Linked DNA regions of Homo sapiens: regions 2, 3, 4 and 5 are each linked to region 1. The links are contacts of gene promoters, found by promoter capture Hi-C in blood cells and fetal thymus (Javierre and others, 2016). All regions are on one chromosome and are shown on one strand. The core of a region is centred on a gene start or on the middle of the fragment in contact, and the rest is flanking DNA. Distances in the headings are between cores, read along the strand shown.

Region 1 (2,700 bases), core at 44-2,543:
ACTCGCAGTTGGCTCTGAAGCACGGGTCCACGGGCTCCACACACTCGCCGTCCACCAGGTCGTAGTTAGGGTAGCAGTGGCACTCGAAGCCACCCTGTGTGTTGACACAGCGCTGCGGACACGGACTGGGCTCCAGTATGCAGTCATCCACGTCCTCGCACCGGTGTTGGTCGGCCGCCAGCCGGTAGCCGGTCTCGCACATGCACGAGTAGGAGCCCGGCTGGTCGGGGTTGGGAACGCAGAAGTGCTCGCAGAGGTCGTTGCAGGACTGCGTCGCGGATGCGGTGCAGGAGCGCCCGTCTGCCTGCAGGGCGGCGCCGGCTGGGCACTGGCAGCGGGGAGCCCCAGGGATCGCATTGCACGCGTGCTCGCAGCCGCCGTTCTCCACGCTGCAGTCCCAAGCGCCCGGCGCCTCCCTGGCCCAGTGCCCCTGGACCGCTCCGGGCGGCGCGGTGCACATTAGCTGTAAGCCGAGGGGAGCCACCGCGGCGGAGCTGCCCACCGGCAGCGCCTGGAAGTCCGCTCCGCGGGCCGCGAACGGGGTGCCGTAGGTGATCGAGACGGCGGCAGCCGCGGCGCCGGGCTCCACAGCCAGTGGCCTGCAGGTGGCTGGGAAGTGGAACTCGCAGAGGAAGCCATCGGCCTTCACTTCGCACTGCTGCTCCTCCCAGATCGGCTCGCTGGGCACAGTGGCCTCAGCAGCGGAGACAGCGACGCACAACGGGCCGCAGAGGGGAGCCCCATTGAGGTCGAGCCGTGCCCACCTGCTATAGCTGGTGTTGTTGTCTCCCGTAACCCACTGGAAGCCGCGCAGGGGCCCGAGGCGCTTGGGGTCGCCGCAGCCGGGTGGCAGCTGCAGGCCGATCCAGAGGCGCCGGCGGCCAACGCCGCCGTCGCCGTTCAGTAGCAAGGAAATGACATCGGCAGCCACCGAGGAGCGCACTGTCATTAGGTGGCCCCGCAGTCCGTCGCAGATCTGACTGGCATTGAGGAAGGTCGCGGGGCCCGGGTAGAGCGCGAAGCAGTCGTGCTCGACGCACTGGCTGCCACCCGGCTGCGGCTCTGCGGGTGCGGGGAACCCCAGGCCGGCCAGGGCCAGCGCGCCAAGGACCAGGACCCCAAGCATGTTACCCAGGCGCGCCGCGTGCAGGCGCCGGGGAAAGCGCGGGCACTGCGACAGGGCCGTGCCGGAGCAGAGGGGCACAGGACGCCGATGGCGACAGCCTCTCCTGTCCGTCCCAGCCCAGACACTTCTTGCCGCTGCGCGCAGCCCCTGCGAGGCAGCCTCTGACATGCGGATCGGCCAGGGCTCGAGTTTATAAGTGCCCGGCCCTCCCTCCCTGGACGTTCGGGAAAAGGAAGGAAGTGCCTGGTGGGAAGGGCTGATGCCGCATACTCGGATTGCTGGGTTCTCTGGCCGCCCTTGCGCCCGCCCTCGCGCATGGGATCACCTCGCCGGGATGAGTAAACCCTGCCCTGGCGCAGGGAGGTTCTCGGGCGGGGCCGACAGGGGCAGGCGCCAGGGAAGGCCAGCACCCCTGTAACAAGACGACTGTCCCCGCCCACCACTCGGGCCCCCACGCGTGCAGCCCTCTTTCATCTCTTGGTCCTCCTTTCTTTCTTTTCATACATGTTACAGCCACTTCCAAGGAAAGCCTGGATTGCAAGAGCTCTGGGAACCGGAGACTTCAGAGAAGAGGGCTTTGAATGGGGAGTGGGGGAGGTGGTGCACAGGACCTGCAAGACGCTGGGAGGGGTGATCGGCACCAAGGGCACTTTGGGAGGACCTGCCTAGGACGTGGACTTCCCCGAAGACAGGATCGCAAGGAGAGACAGCTGGATCCTGTCCGCGGCCAAGGTGCCTGGCTCAGGAAACCAGCGGAGCGCGCTTGGCCTCACAGGACAGTGGGTGTGGCTGGGGTGACGGGGCAGGGTGGGGAAGACTGGCCTAACACCAGCGCCCTCTGCCCCATGGCTGGCCAGGGACCCGCGAGTCCCTGGACACGCACTGGCCAACGCCAGACCCCATCTCATCGGGTGGGGAAGTCGCGGGGACACTGTCAGGGCGCCGAAGTCCGGACCCGGCTCAGAGGCGGTGGCAGGTGAATTGCTGCGGCGCCGGGTAGGGGCGGGCGCGTGGGAGCGAGTCAGCCTGGCCAGTTTCGGCCCAGCTTCCGAAGGATGGTGCTTCTTGCACCCCAACAGAGTGGCTGGCAACCCCCCAGGGGAGCGCGCAGGATCCCAGCTGATCCCACCCGGGTCGGCTAAGGAGGTTTCCATTTCGTCCAGAGTCCGAATTGATACCCACGTGCATAGAAACGCCACTTGCTCGGCAAAGGGCACTGAAGAGCCACCGTCCTGTGGATGGGCAGGGTGGGGGGGGGGCTGGAGGAGGACATGGGAATCCGTCACTTTCGACCTCTTCCGGTGGTTCACTTACCGGGAATGCGGAAGAGTGGGTCTCCCCCTCGGGTCGCCCCCATAATGGTGAGAGGCAAACTGTTTAAAAACACCCTTGCCTCTCTCCTCTACTGTCCTCACAACGAGCGCCAGGGGGCGGCGCTGTCGAGCTCTAAACAAAGCCAAGGAAGTTGGAGAAGTTTCGGGCTAAAAAGGGTTAAGGTGTAGGAGCACAGAGTCCTCCTTCTGGGGTTGGAAGCTCCGTTCCCGGGCAGCTCAGCGTGGATTCCGCTGCGTTCA
Region 2 (2,700 bases), core at 135-2,634, 720 kb before region 1:
AGGCCAACATCTTCAAAGTGAAACAAAAAGAACGCAGGGAGCAGTTATGTCTTACATCGTACTCAAACAGGCCTTAGTTTTGCCAAGAACAAAAGCAGCTGTGGATTTGGAACAAGATTATGTTATGGGTGGCTGCACAGTCATGGATCTCTCATATGAGAATTGAGGGTGTGGAGCACATTTATGATTCAGAAAGGAGAAAGAAGGACTTGTGTGTTCAGGACCTTGGGGTAAGGTTAGAATAACACACTTTTCTATCTCAAGTTAACCAACTGGAAATTGGACTTCTCTTGAAGCTAGAGAATCCATCAGTCACCTGAATTAAAAAGAGGTGATTCTAAAGCTTTCATCAAGACCTGAAACCTTGATGCCCCAGAAATTGGTGCATTGGTCGGGTATGGCCTTAGTGGTGCTGTGGAGTGGATGGTGTTCGTTTGTGAGAGCACCCACTCCTAAGTAATAGTGATGGGGGCCCCTGTGTTCAACACCTTGCTCCTGCCTTTTCCCACATTTATTCAGCTCACAGACACATAAATCTCAAAGTCACCCACATCCACACTGGCACTTGTGCCCAGGCGAACATTGATAAAGTAGACTCTGCTTCATGGACTCTACCCACAGGGGGGAACTGGATGGAAGCATTAGGCAGATTATAATAAGCCTCACAAAATTTGGATTCATTGATTTTGTAACTTTGATGGCACCCAAATTTACCAAGTCTTGTCTGGATCCTTAGGATATCACACCAAGAAAGATTATTCCAAATAGGTCTACAGGTAATCAGTTATTCTCAAAGCCAGTTGTCTACAACTGAATTTCCCAAATCTGTCCTAGGAGGTTTGGTCAATGCCCAAGTTAATCAGATACCTTCATGTTCATCGGAGGCTAAGAGTTGCCTGTTAATATAATGCCTGAGTAAACAGGTGGTGTTAACTATCATAGTGATACTTTCCCCCTCCTTCATAAAACTTTAAAAGTCAGGCCATTTAGTATTACATTTATACAACATGTAAGGACAGACTGGAACAAATGGAATCTTGTCTAGTTGAGAAATATTAAGTTGTTCTCTATACCACCTTTCCACAAGCAAGTAAATCAATTCAAAGCATTCCATCCAAGAAACTGGAAGTCTCTTGATGTGCGTAGCTGTGATAGCAAGATTATAAATGGGAAAAATGAGGTATATATTTGAGAACAGTTCCCTTCTAACCCCTAGAATTCCTAAGATTATCACTCAGTGGTCAAGATGGTCATAGAAATATGGTTCTCATGGGGAAACCAGATGGCGGGAGCAGGGTTCCTGAAGAGACCATCATCACCGTTCCTAAGGAGTGCTCTTACAAACCAACAGCACCCACTCTACTCTCCACCCAGTTAATTCTGTCCATCTTTCAGTTTATTGCAAATCCCTCACCTCCATGCAGTTTCCCCTGATCCCTGCAGTGGGCCAGGCCTCCTGGTTACCTGCTCCCATGGCACCCTGCACTGCTCCTGGTAATACTTAGCAGAGGTGTGGTAAATCATTACTAGTGTAAGTTTATAAGCAAGGTGGGGATGGGGGTCTTGCCTGTATTATTTTCACACAATGTTTCTACATCATAGATTCTCAAAAAAAAATTGTTTAATAAAACTAATGGTGGATAAGTGAGTGAATGTGTGTGTGAACAAAAGTCACTTATATGTAAATGTCTGACAAGGAAGAGCTGAGTAAATGTATATTTTCATCTTTCCTCATATATCACAGTGTGGGGGACAACTAACCCCTCTACATGGATATTAGAAGCCAGGCTTGGTTGGCTGCTATGGAACATGCAAAGCCATGTGGCCCAGTGGAGTCTACAGAGAGGTTCATGCAACAACTTGCCCTTCAGTCAATTAACTTTTCTTTCAGAAAAAGTCCCAAATAAATTGGAAACACTTTGGAAATTTGCACTTGCTTCATATGAATAAAACAGAATGTGCAGTATTTTTCTATAAGAAACCCTTACCTGAGGTCAAAGGAATCTTAAATTATTTTTAAAAAATGAATTCTTTCTTGCAACAGGACTACATTTAAATCATGATAAATAAACTGAAAACATAAATAACTCCATTTCAAGGGAAGCCCTGTTCTACCCATTCTACCACCAGGCTGATTCTACTTATGCATGGACCAGATCCTTTCTTCTGCACATAATTACATCTCCACCCTGGCTTATCAAAGATGGAGACTGGCTGGTTGATGATTATGCCTACCTTGAAGATGTTCCTGGGCTTTATCTTTTTTTGTGGTTGTTCCATTCTGTTCTTAGAATTCTTTGATCTTATTGTATATTATATTATCTCCAGTATTAGGTCATATTGGGCCATAACATTGTCATTATTATTTTGAATTCTACTGAGATCTTGCAAAATTCATGAGTGCCTTAAATGTTCTATGCCTCTGTAAGCTTTTGATATAGTTCTATTGGTATTGTGATGGCAGTAACTGACTTGGCATTGATATTGGTATGTCAGGCGAGGTAGAAAGGGCACTAAATTGTGGACTAGGCTCCTGCTCTCAATTCCTACCTCCACCGTTATTGCCATGGAACCCTCAGCTCTCTGAGCTTCTATCTCTTCATACCTAAAATGAGGACACGGACTAGTCCTGAGGTTTCTAACCCTGGCAGCTCATTGAAATCACCTGTGTATGAATTACCCTGCAGGCTCCAGAGCCTA
Region 3 (2,700 bases), core at 47-2,546, 580 kb after region 1:
TGAAATCATGGCTCATTGCAGCCTCAAACTGCTGAGCTCACGCAGTCCTCCCGCGTCAGCCTCCAGAATAGCTGGGAGTGCACCACCAGGCCTGGTTTCCTTGCTGTCTCTTCAGTTTTGTTGCTTCCCATAACTTGGCTTCATTCTCAAACAGGCTCCAAGTGGGCCCCAGACCTCAAGTCTTTTTTATCTTCACACTCAGCAGGGAAGGAAGAACCCACTTATCACACAGTCAAACAAAATCCCACCGTTAAGCCTATGTGGGTCCTGGGCAGCCACACATAGGTCACGTGTTGTCCTCATGCCAATCATGAGGCTTCAGGGGAGGGAGACCCGCTGCCCTGACCAGCTTAGCCAGGGTCAAGTGCTCCAAGCTGTGGTCCAAAGGGTAGAGTCAGCTTCCCTGGAAAAAGGCGGAGTGAGAGGGGAGGAGGGGTGAATCCTCACGGGGAAACTGCTATTGTTGTTGTAAGAAGGTGGGGCAGTCATGGCTTGTGAGTCAGACGCTGGCCGCTGGCCTCAGAGGTGTGTTTGGTAATGATGCCTCCATGCATACAGCATGAGCTGCCCAGTCAGAGAAGGCACAGAGCCTGTGGGGTAAACACTTCCCAGCATCATTCCCTGCCTGGTAGCCATTCAGGAAAGGCAGCATTTTCCTCAGTCTTTTCATCAGGGTCCTGGATTTGGGTAAAATAAATAGATAAATAAATAACTGTTGCTATTAGTGATCTCAAGTCCCTCACAAAGAAGGTGGTCCTGTTCACTAGGAAGGCCTTTGGTTTATAAGCACCTTGATGGGTGTGGGGAAGTCTACAAAGAGCTGAGTGGTTCTACCCCACAAAGGAGCCTTTGGACTTGCTGAGGGACTCAGTGGAGAGGATGCGTGGACAGATGGGGAATGCCACGGCGAAGAGCAGGCAGGGGAACAATCAGGCCAGTGACTGGTGGGGGGGGGAGGGGGTGGAATGTGAAGGTCAAGTGGCAACTACCTTTGGGAGGGAAGCCAAGGGCATTTCAAGGACAGAAATACCCAGTGCTGGGTTTGAGGAAGTGGGGGTTACTGTTCCACAGGGCAGGAGGTGATTTCCTGAAATCACCGACAAATTTCATTGCCCCAAACAAAGCTTTGGTGGAAGGAATTTCCGTTTGCTTTTGCTTTGTTGAGTTTCATTTACTGGAAATCAAGGGCTACACGTTTGCAGAGATACCTGGCACGGAAAGTGTGTCCACAGGCAGATGTGACCATGAGACTATCTTTACCTGCTGCAATTTGCAGATGTTTTAGGAGCAACTGGACTTTGACCAGGACTCTAATTGAGTTATAGTCCAGTGGTTCCTTGGGGAAGCAATGGGAGGAGTATTTAAACATCCAATGTCCACGTCCCATCCCAGAACACGATCAACTTTTCCGACTGGGATCATGGGATTGCCATGTGCAGCCAGGCTCCCCAGTGACGCCATGTACAGCCAAGCTTGAGACTAGAGTTCAGATGAGCCTGACCTGGTCTCAAGGGAGCCAGAGCCCCAGCTGATGTCACAGTGGCCTGAGCACATCTGACTCGACCCCATAAGCCTCAGGTGACAGGATTTGGAAGTGACCCACTTGGCATCCCAGCACCAAGGGTGAGAGCAGGTATGGGTAATTAAAGGAATGTCTGTTCCCTATTTTAGTCACCATTGTGTTCATGGCTTCTCAGTGTTGTGTCTTTGAGCAGTGAACTCAGACAGCACAGCAGAGCATAAGGAGAGGAAGGGGTGACTAGCTGCTGTCTTCCTGGGCCTCGTCTCTCCAGCTTCGCCCTGGAGTTATGGGACAGGGCTGGCGATTTGCTCTCTCTACATCTTTTAGGGAGGCTTGTGGCCTAGTCCAAGGTCACTCCCGTCAGCCAATCATAAGCCAGCTCTCCTCTGTCTCTCACAGCCACATGGGTGGCAACATCCCAAGCCTCTAAGTCCATAAATAATAAACCACCAAGGCAGAGTTAAAAAAAAAAAAAAAGGCAAACTCAATAGTCTTCTATTGAACTATTAACTAGTCTATCAGTAAAGACTAGAGGTACAATACTTGGAAATATCCCTGACCAAAATATAAAATATCCAGGAATAAATTTCACAGAAAATATGAAAGATGCATAAAATTTATTCTACTGAATACCATCAGAAAAGCAGGAAGGTATTGCAAGATGCATGGTATTCTAAAATGAAAGGCTCAAATGTTAAACGTTGTCAATTTTTTTTCCTAAAAAAACATAATATTTCTACTTATTGAACCTGAAAAAACAGTTTCATTTGGAGGAAGAAATACATTTAGAAAACAAAATTTTGGGGGAATAAAGAATAAAGATATAAAAATATTACCTAAAAGATACAAAAATATTATATTTAAAATGGAGTAATTAAAAAAATGGAAAAGAACAAGCCAGATTTAGGACTGAGATCCTGAAACTGACCTATGGTTATGGAAATCTGCTGTGGGTGTCAGCTGGAGCGGCTCTGGGCGGTCTCCTGTGGAGACTCCATCTTGGATGCCAATGCTGAGCCTCAGTCCCATCAATGCTTCTAAGATTTCTATTTCATCTGCTGTTTACTGTAAATCCAGCCCTTAGGTAAATTCCTTCTGAAGCTCCTATACCTTTTCCCCTATGGCACAGAAGCCCAGGGTCTGGGGGTAATGGGGTGGCGATCCACTGTCTTGCAGCC
Region 4 (2,700 bases), core at 18-2,517, 700 kb before region 1:
GTATTTGCTTATTTCCCAGGCAGTCCCATGGAGAGCTGAGGCTGGCTAGACACTGGGACTGACTGTTGTTATCTATGCCTGTTGTCCACGTGACAGCCAGGGCTAAAGACAAGACTTTCTGTCTCTATCAACAGCCAGAGTAAATCCTCATGAAACAATATTCGGTACTAGAGATACCAGCTGCAGCAGAAAATATACAGATCATAGGCACTGAACTCCAACAAGACACAATCTAGTCCAGAGATAGGCCGCAGGAGTGCAAATATCAGTTTATCACTTAAACTTGTTTGATGTTCTTGGCAGTAGTTCTAAGCACTGAGGAAGTAAGTCTAAATGGTCTTCAGGCAGCCAAGTTAAAGAGTATCCTCAATAATCCAATAATCTAATAATAATAACCACCTAGTGCATCCTTCCTCTGTGCCTGATTCATTCATGGCATTTTATGTTATCTTTTGTGAGTATATGACTAACTTCACTGTGCAGATGAGGCAGCTGAACCTCAGAGAGGCTGTTAGTTGCCTAAGTTTATGCAGCCAGTAAGTCACTTTGTAGATTCAAATGCTTCTATACCACTATAACATTTATAATAGCTATGATATTAACTAGTCCTGAAGAGGTTAACTTATGTTCAATATGATCTAATTGAAATGGCAGAGAAGTATGTAGAATATTTTAGAAGTATTTCCACTAGAATAGTAAAAATAATTTACTCTTTAGTGTTTTCTGGCAATGCAATGTAATGAAGATTTTTTGTAGGCAACTGGGAGCAAGAGTGACTTTAAATTCTGGCTCCACCAATTACTAGCTTTGTAAACTTGAGCAAATTACCTAACCCCCTGCACCTCAGTCTGGCATCTACAGAGTGGACTTAATAATCCAACTTTGGAGTGCCATGGAGGCACTGATGATAAACTGTGTTTGGAGCATAAAACACCTAGAAATGCATCTAGCACAGGGCAAGATGGAAAATTAAATTCGTGAGATAGTGATTAAAGAATGTGTTAATCTGGAAAGATTCTAAGGCATAGATATGCTAAAAATATATTCATATTCTGGGCAAGAAAATACAGCCAGTGTGGAGCACGGGGTTGGGGACTGTAGGTTTCTCATACTACTTCCATCACTGCAGAGTCATCAATAAGTTGAATTTGAAGGCTGGGGTAGAATCAGTAATCATTTTGGGAAAGGCAGGAGGCTCCGTGTTTAGAATATCATGAACCAAAGCTCCAGGATGAATAAGAAAAAAGAGCTGAAAAGAACAGTAAATGAATGTGGAAAACTTAGTGTGAGAATGAGAACATGGTATACGCAGGGAATGGGAGGTTGGCTTTTCGGCTACACAACATGGGTCGGCAGATGTTTTCTGTAAAGGGCCAAAGAGGAAATTGTTAGGTTCTGTGGGTCATACTGTCTGTGTCCCAACCGCTCAACTCTGCTGTTGTAGCAGAAAGGTAGCAATAGACAATCTATAACTGAATACATGGATGTGTTCCAGTGAAACTTTAGTTACACCAGGGGCCACAATTTTTCCACCTCTGCTATAGCTGATAGATTTAAAAACTAACTTGGAATGTCACCATGAAGAAATTCTCTAAATACAAAGGATCCCAAGAAAGCTATTAAGACCCTGAAATCCAGTCCCAAAAAATTTATAGGAAGAGATAATTATTTTTGGCATAAAAAATACATCTGTCTTACTATCTTCGAAATGACTCTGAGAAAAATATATTGAGCAGGGAAGTGTTTTTTTTTTTTATTCCATGTCTGAAAATATACCTCAAACAGAAAATTCAGATGTGTTAAAATGCTATTTCATCCAAACAGAGGCAGCAGTTTGGAGAAATAAAAAGACTCTGGAGCCAGAAGCTGCTGCTGAACAGAGAGGTTTATGTTTCAAGGGAGTGGAAATCAGGCTGTACCCTGAGTGTTGGCTTGGGCTGGCAACGGATTGCCCACTCACTAGGAGCTGGGCTTCCCAAGGAAGGGACAAGCACAAGGAAACCTTCTTTTCCTCTGCAGAGAAGGAAGCTGGGCACCTAAGCGGTTTCATGATTCCATGACTGGCTCATTGAGAATTTATTGGATGGATTTCACTCATAAAGTTTCTTTTATGGAATTCTAAGGGATTTGCTGGAAGAGATTTCTATGTGAAGGTCAAAAGGAGTAAATTATTTAGCTTCCAGAAGAGGCAGTGGTTACTATTCACAGACTGAACAGCGACAGGGAGAACTTTTTTCTGTAAACTCCATGAGGGGAGGGATAAAGACTCCGTTGCTCACCCTTGCCTCTCCATCCTATGGTTCAGAGCCATGAAGAGCAGACACTGCTGAATATGGGGGAGCTGTTTTTCACCATTCAGCGATATTTCTGCCTCTTTGCATAGCCAGTGAAATGGCTGGGCTGTTGACTGAAAGGATGGATGAACATTGCAAATCTTATCATTTCTATTCCTTGTATCCTCAGAAAAGAAGTGTTGTCCAATGACGAATGCTTGGTCTTAGAGTCTGGCCAGAACACAGAGGAAGAGGCCGCTCGGAGGACAGAGTGAGCTGCCCAGGTGGCCCACTGGCATCAGGGGCTGTTCTGTATGAAGCTGTTTGAAAACTTTTCACAAGGTCCTGCTCCTTCAGAAGAGGGTGCATATGATCTTATCTGCCCATAAATCTCAGAAGTTTTACAGGCAAAATCTATAGTAGGTGG
Region 5 (2,700 bases), core at 12-2,511, 560 kb after region 1:
CTGTGCTGATGATTTTCTTTTCTTTATTCTTTTTTGAGACGGAGGTCTCACTATGTTGCTTAGGCTGGTCTTGAACTCCTGGGCTCAAGTGATCCTCTCTCCTTGGCCTCCCAAAGTACGAGGATTACAGGCATGAGCCACCACGTGCAACCTGATTTCTTTCACCATATAGATTTTTCTTAAAAATTGAAGACGGTTTAATGTATCAATGTTTTGTTTAGGGTATGTGCTTTTGTAATTTTCATTTCAACAATCCTTTCCTATGCTCTTCTATGTTCTGTTTCACCATGTTCTTTCTTTTGCTTTTCACATTTATGTGTGCGATCCAACTGGAGGCTAAGTGTGTGTGGTGTGAGGTTGGAATCCCAGGATCGATCGTCTGCCCCACCACCTGCGTGCACAGCTGGCTTTTCCAGCATTGACGATGGAGCAGTTCATTCTCCACCCTCTGATTCCAACAGCATTTCTATCGTAGTCCCCTTTCCCCAAAAGGCTGGTTGCCTTTGAGCCTCTTTTCTATTGTACTGGCTGTATGAAGGAGGCACAGGCCTGAGCTAAGAAGGTCATTGTTTGATCTTGGCCAGGAAAGGAAGAAAAATTCTTGGGCACTTCCCAGACCTAGGCACACTTCCTGGGCCCTACCTGCTAGAATAGATGGGTCTGCTCCCTGGTTCTAGCCCCTGACTCCCTGCCACACCCTCCCATCATCGGGCTGCTGCTTTGCACTAACATCCTCTCTTTGGGGCATATAGTCTGATTTTGGATCCCAGCTTTTCGGAAAAGCTTCATGTATTGGCCATGATTATTGATGCTACTGTTATCGTCACAAGCACCTCACCCTGCAAGCTCACCGTGCCCTTCCTTCATTCTTTGGAAACATGAGATTTGTTCTTGCGGGCAGCTTGTCTTCCTGGGAAGTTGAAATTACCTTTTTGATGCAGACAAGCACTTGTCCTGAAGAGTAACGGGAGGAACCAGGTGTCTATCACTGAGAGGCGGGAGTGCAGAACTGGAGACAGGATAAGTGGGGCAATCTTGACTGATTGCAAGGAAATAGTACTGTTATTGGCTCCATTTGTAGAGGCTGGAGTCTTTAGATGACTTGTATGGTTTATAGACTCCACGGAAGGAGGCAAAGCAGTAGTTGAGGAGGTCTTTGGAGTTGGGCACATGTGAGTTCAGGTCTCATTTGCACCTTTTACTAGTTGCATTTCCTGGGGGCACATTTCTACTTTATGTGAGCTTCTGTTTCCACAACCGTGCAATTGGACTCTTGTGATTTCTCCTTCATGGAGCTGTCATGAAGATGAATGGGGAGATGTATGGAAGGCACTGGCAGGAGGCCCAGCAGGACCAGGCCCTCAGGAGATGGTGTTTGTGCTGCTCATTCTCATCACCAGTTCTGGGGGGAACATCCCTCATGAGCCAGGCTTGTTGATGACAACCTTCTCAGCAGTCAAGTGGCAGAGGAGATGAGGAGGGACCCAAATGTCCAAGCTCCCACCAGGGGTAGGCAGGCAAAAAGGAGGAGCAGAGGATTCTATGGCTTGTCAGCAATTACCAGGTTCTCTGGGACAGTGTAGACAGGGCATGGAAATGGGATTGCATTTTACTGTTTGGCTTTGAGTTTAGACTTTTGGTCCAAGTCAGGTTGGGATCAGAACTCAAGAGAGTATCTTCTGGATAATTAAATATAATGATTATCTCTTCGAAAGGCTCTGACAACCAAACTCACGTTCCCAAGCTTCATTTTAAAGTGTTGAGATGCTTGGGCTCACGTCCTTGTGTTCTGCCTTGTAGCTGGGAAACCTGGTGCACCTCAGTATTCCTAAGCCCCCTTTCCTCACCTATGGTTTTGGATCAAGTTTAGCTGAGAGATCATATACAGTGACACTGTGTGACCCCTTACAGTATGATTTGACCGTTTGCTGTTAGAAGACCCACTATCCCCCATCCTCATTCTGAAGTCAAAACAGCATCCGGGCTCCTCTTCTTCTCTATTGGGAGCAAGTTTTATTTTAAAATAAAATCAGGGATAAGTGCCAAATGTAATCATCAGCTGAGACCCTCAAAACCTTTTGTTCCAACCACTCTAATTTCTGTCACAATGGCCCCTTGTCACTGTGAGCCTTTCTGTAGAGGGTATTTGGGGCTGTCTTGCCTCTGACCACTTCATGCACACTGATCACAGTGTTCTCAATACTTTTCATTTTGACACTTTTGGGCAAAGTTTACCTCTACTTCTTTGAAAACATTCTCTTTAGACTTGGCCAATTTGACAAACGTGTTCTTTCTGCCTTCTTTAGTGGTTGTCCAGGCATGGACAACGGCTGCTTTCTCCTGGAACTGATTCCATTCAGAGTCCTTTTGGCTTTCTTGCAATAGTTTTCCTTTGATTCAGCCAAATTTTCCACTTCTTCAATAAGTGTTATTTAGAGATCAACCTCAAATCTCCAACACTGGCACTTATTTTGAAACCTTAAGCAGTAAATCCATGCCAGAGATAATACTTCCTTTTGGGGGACAAAAACCGATTCAGTCTATTTTCCACCTTCTTTACTTTTCCAGACACATCAGTGATTCTTGACACGTTAATATCTTCCTTAAGCCTCACCACAATCCATGTGATTTTAGGCTAAGGGATTAGATTTGGGATCTATTTCTCCAACATCCATATATAGTGGTTCAAGATAAAAGATA

Evidence for each region. The method cuts DNA at HindIII sites, captures the fragments that hold promoters and counts their contacts. A CHiCAGO score of 5 or more calls a contact.
Region 2: a contact is called between a fragment that was not itself captured here and the fragment with the promoter of THBD in region 1, in 1 of 17 cell types (endothelial precursors). The highest score is 5.2, in endothelial precursors.
Region 3: a contact is called between a fragment that was not itself captured here and the fragment with the promoter of THBD in region 1, in 1 of 17 cell types (monocytes). The highest score is 6.0, in monocytes.
Region 4: a contact is called between a fragment that was not itself captured here and the fragment with the promoter of THBD in region 1, in 2 of 17 cell types (M2 macrophages and M1 macrophages). The highest score is 9.4, in M2 macrophages.
Region 5: a contact is called between a fragment that was not itself captured here and the fragment with the promoter of THBD in region 1, in 3 of 17 cell types (M0 macrophages, M1 macrophages and M2 macrophages). The highest score is 7.0, in M0 macrophages.

The regions. Positions count from the first base shown.
Region 1 is chr20:23,048,379-23,051,078 of GRCh38, forward strand. THBD (thrombomodulin) reads right to left here and starts at 1,294. Exons shown (of 1, transcript NM_000361.3): 1 at 1-1,294. The coding sequence starts at 1,126. The HindIII fragment of the contact is 6,749 bases long and covers 1-2,700 here.
Region 2 is chr20:22,324,558-22,327,257 of GRCh38, forward strand. No RefSeq gene overlaps it. Among named protein-coding and RNA genes, the nearest start is that of LINC01427, 43 kb to the left of the region's middle. The HindIII fragment of the contact is 2,086 bases long and covers 342-2,427 here.
Region 3 is chr20:23,628,789-23,631,488 of GRCh38, forward strand. It overlaps a transcript of CST3 not described here. Among named protein-coding and RNA genes, the nearest start is that of CST3, 7.8 kb to the right of the region's middle. The HindIII fragment of the contact is 348 bases long and covers 1,123-1,470 here.
Region 4 is chr20:22,348,121-22,350,820 of GRCh38, forward strand. No RefSeq gene overlaps it. Among named protein-coding and RNA genes, the nearest start is that of LINC01427, 67 kb to the left of the region's middle. The HindIII fragment of the contact is 3,014 bases long and covers 1-2,700 here.
Region 5 is chr20:23,610,264-23,612,963 of GRCh38, forward strand. No RefSeq gene overlaps it. Among named protein-coding and RNA genes, the nearest start is that of CST9, 5.7 kb to the left of the region's middle. The HindIII fragment of the contact is 961 bases long and covers 782-1,742 here.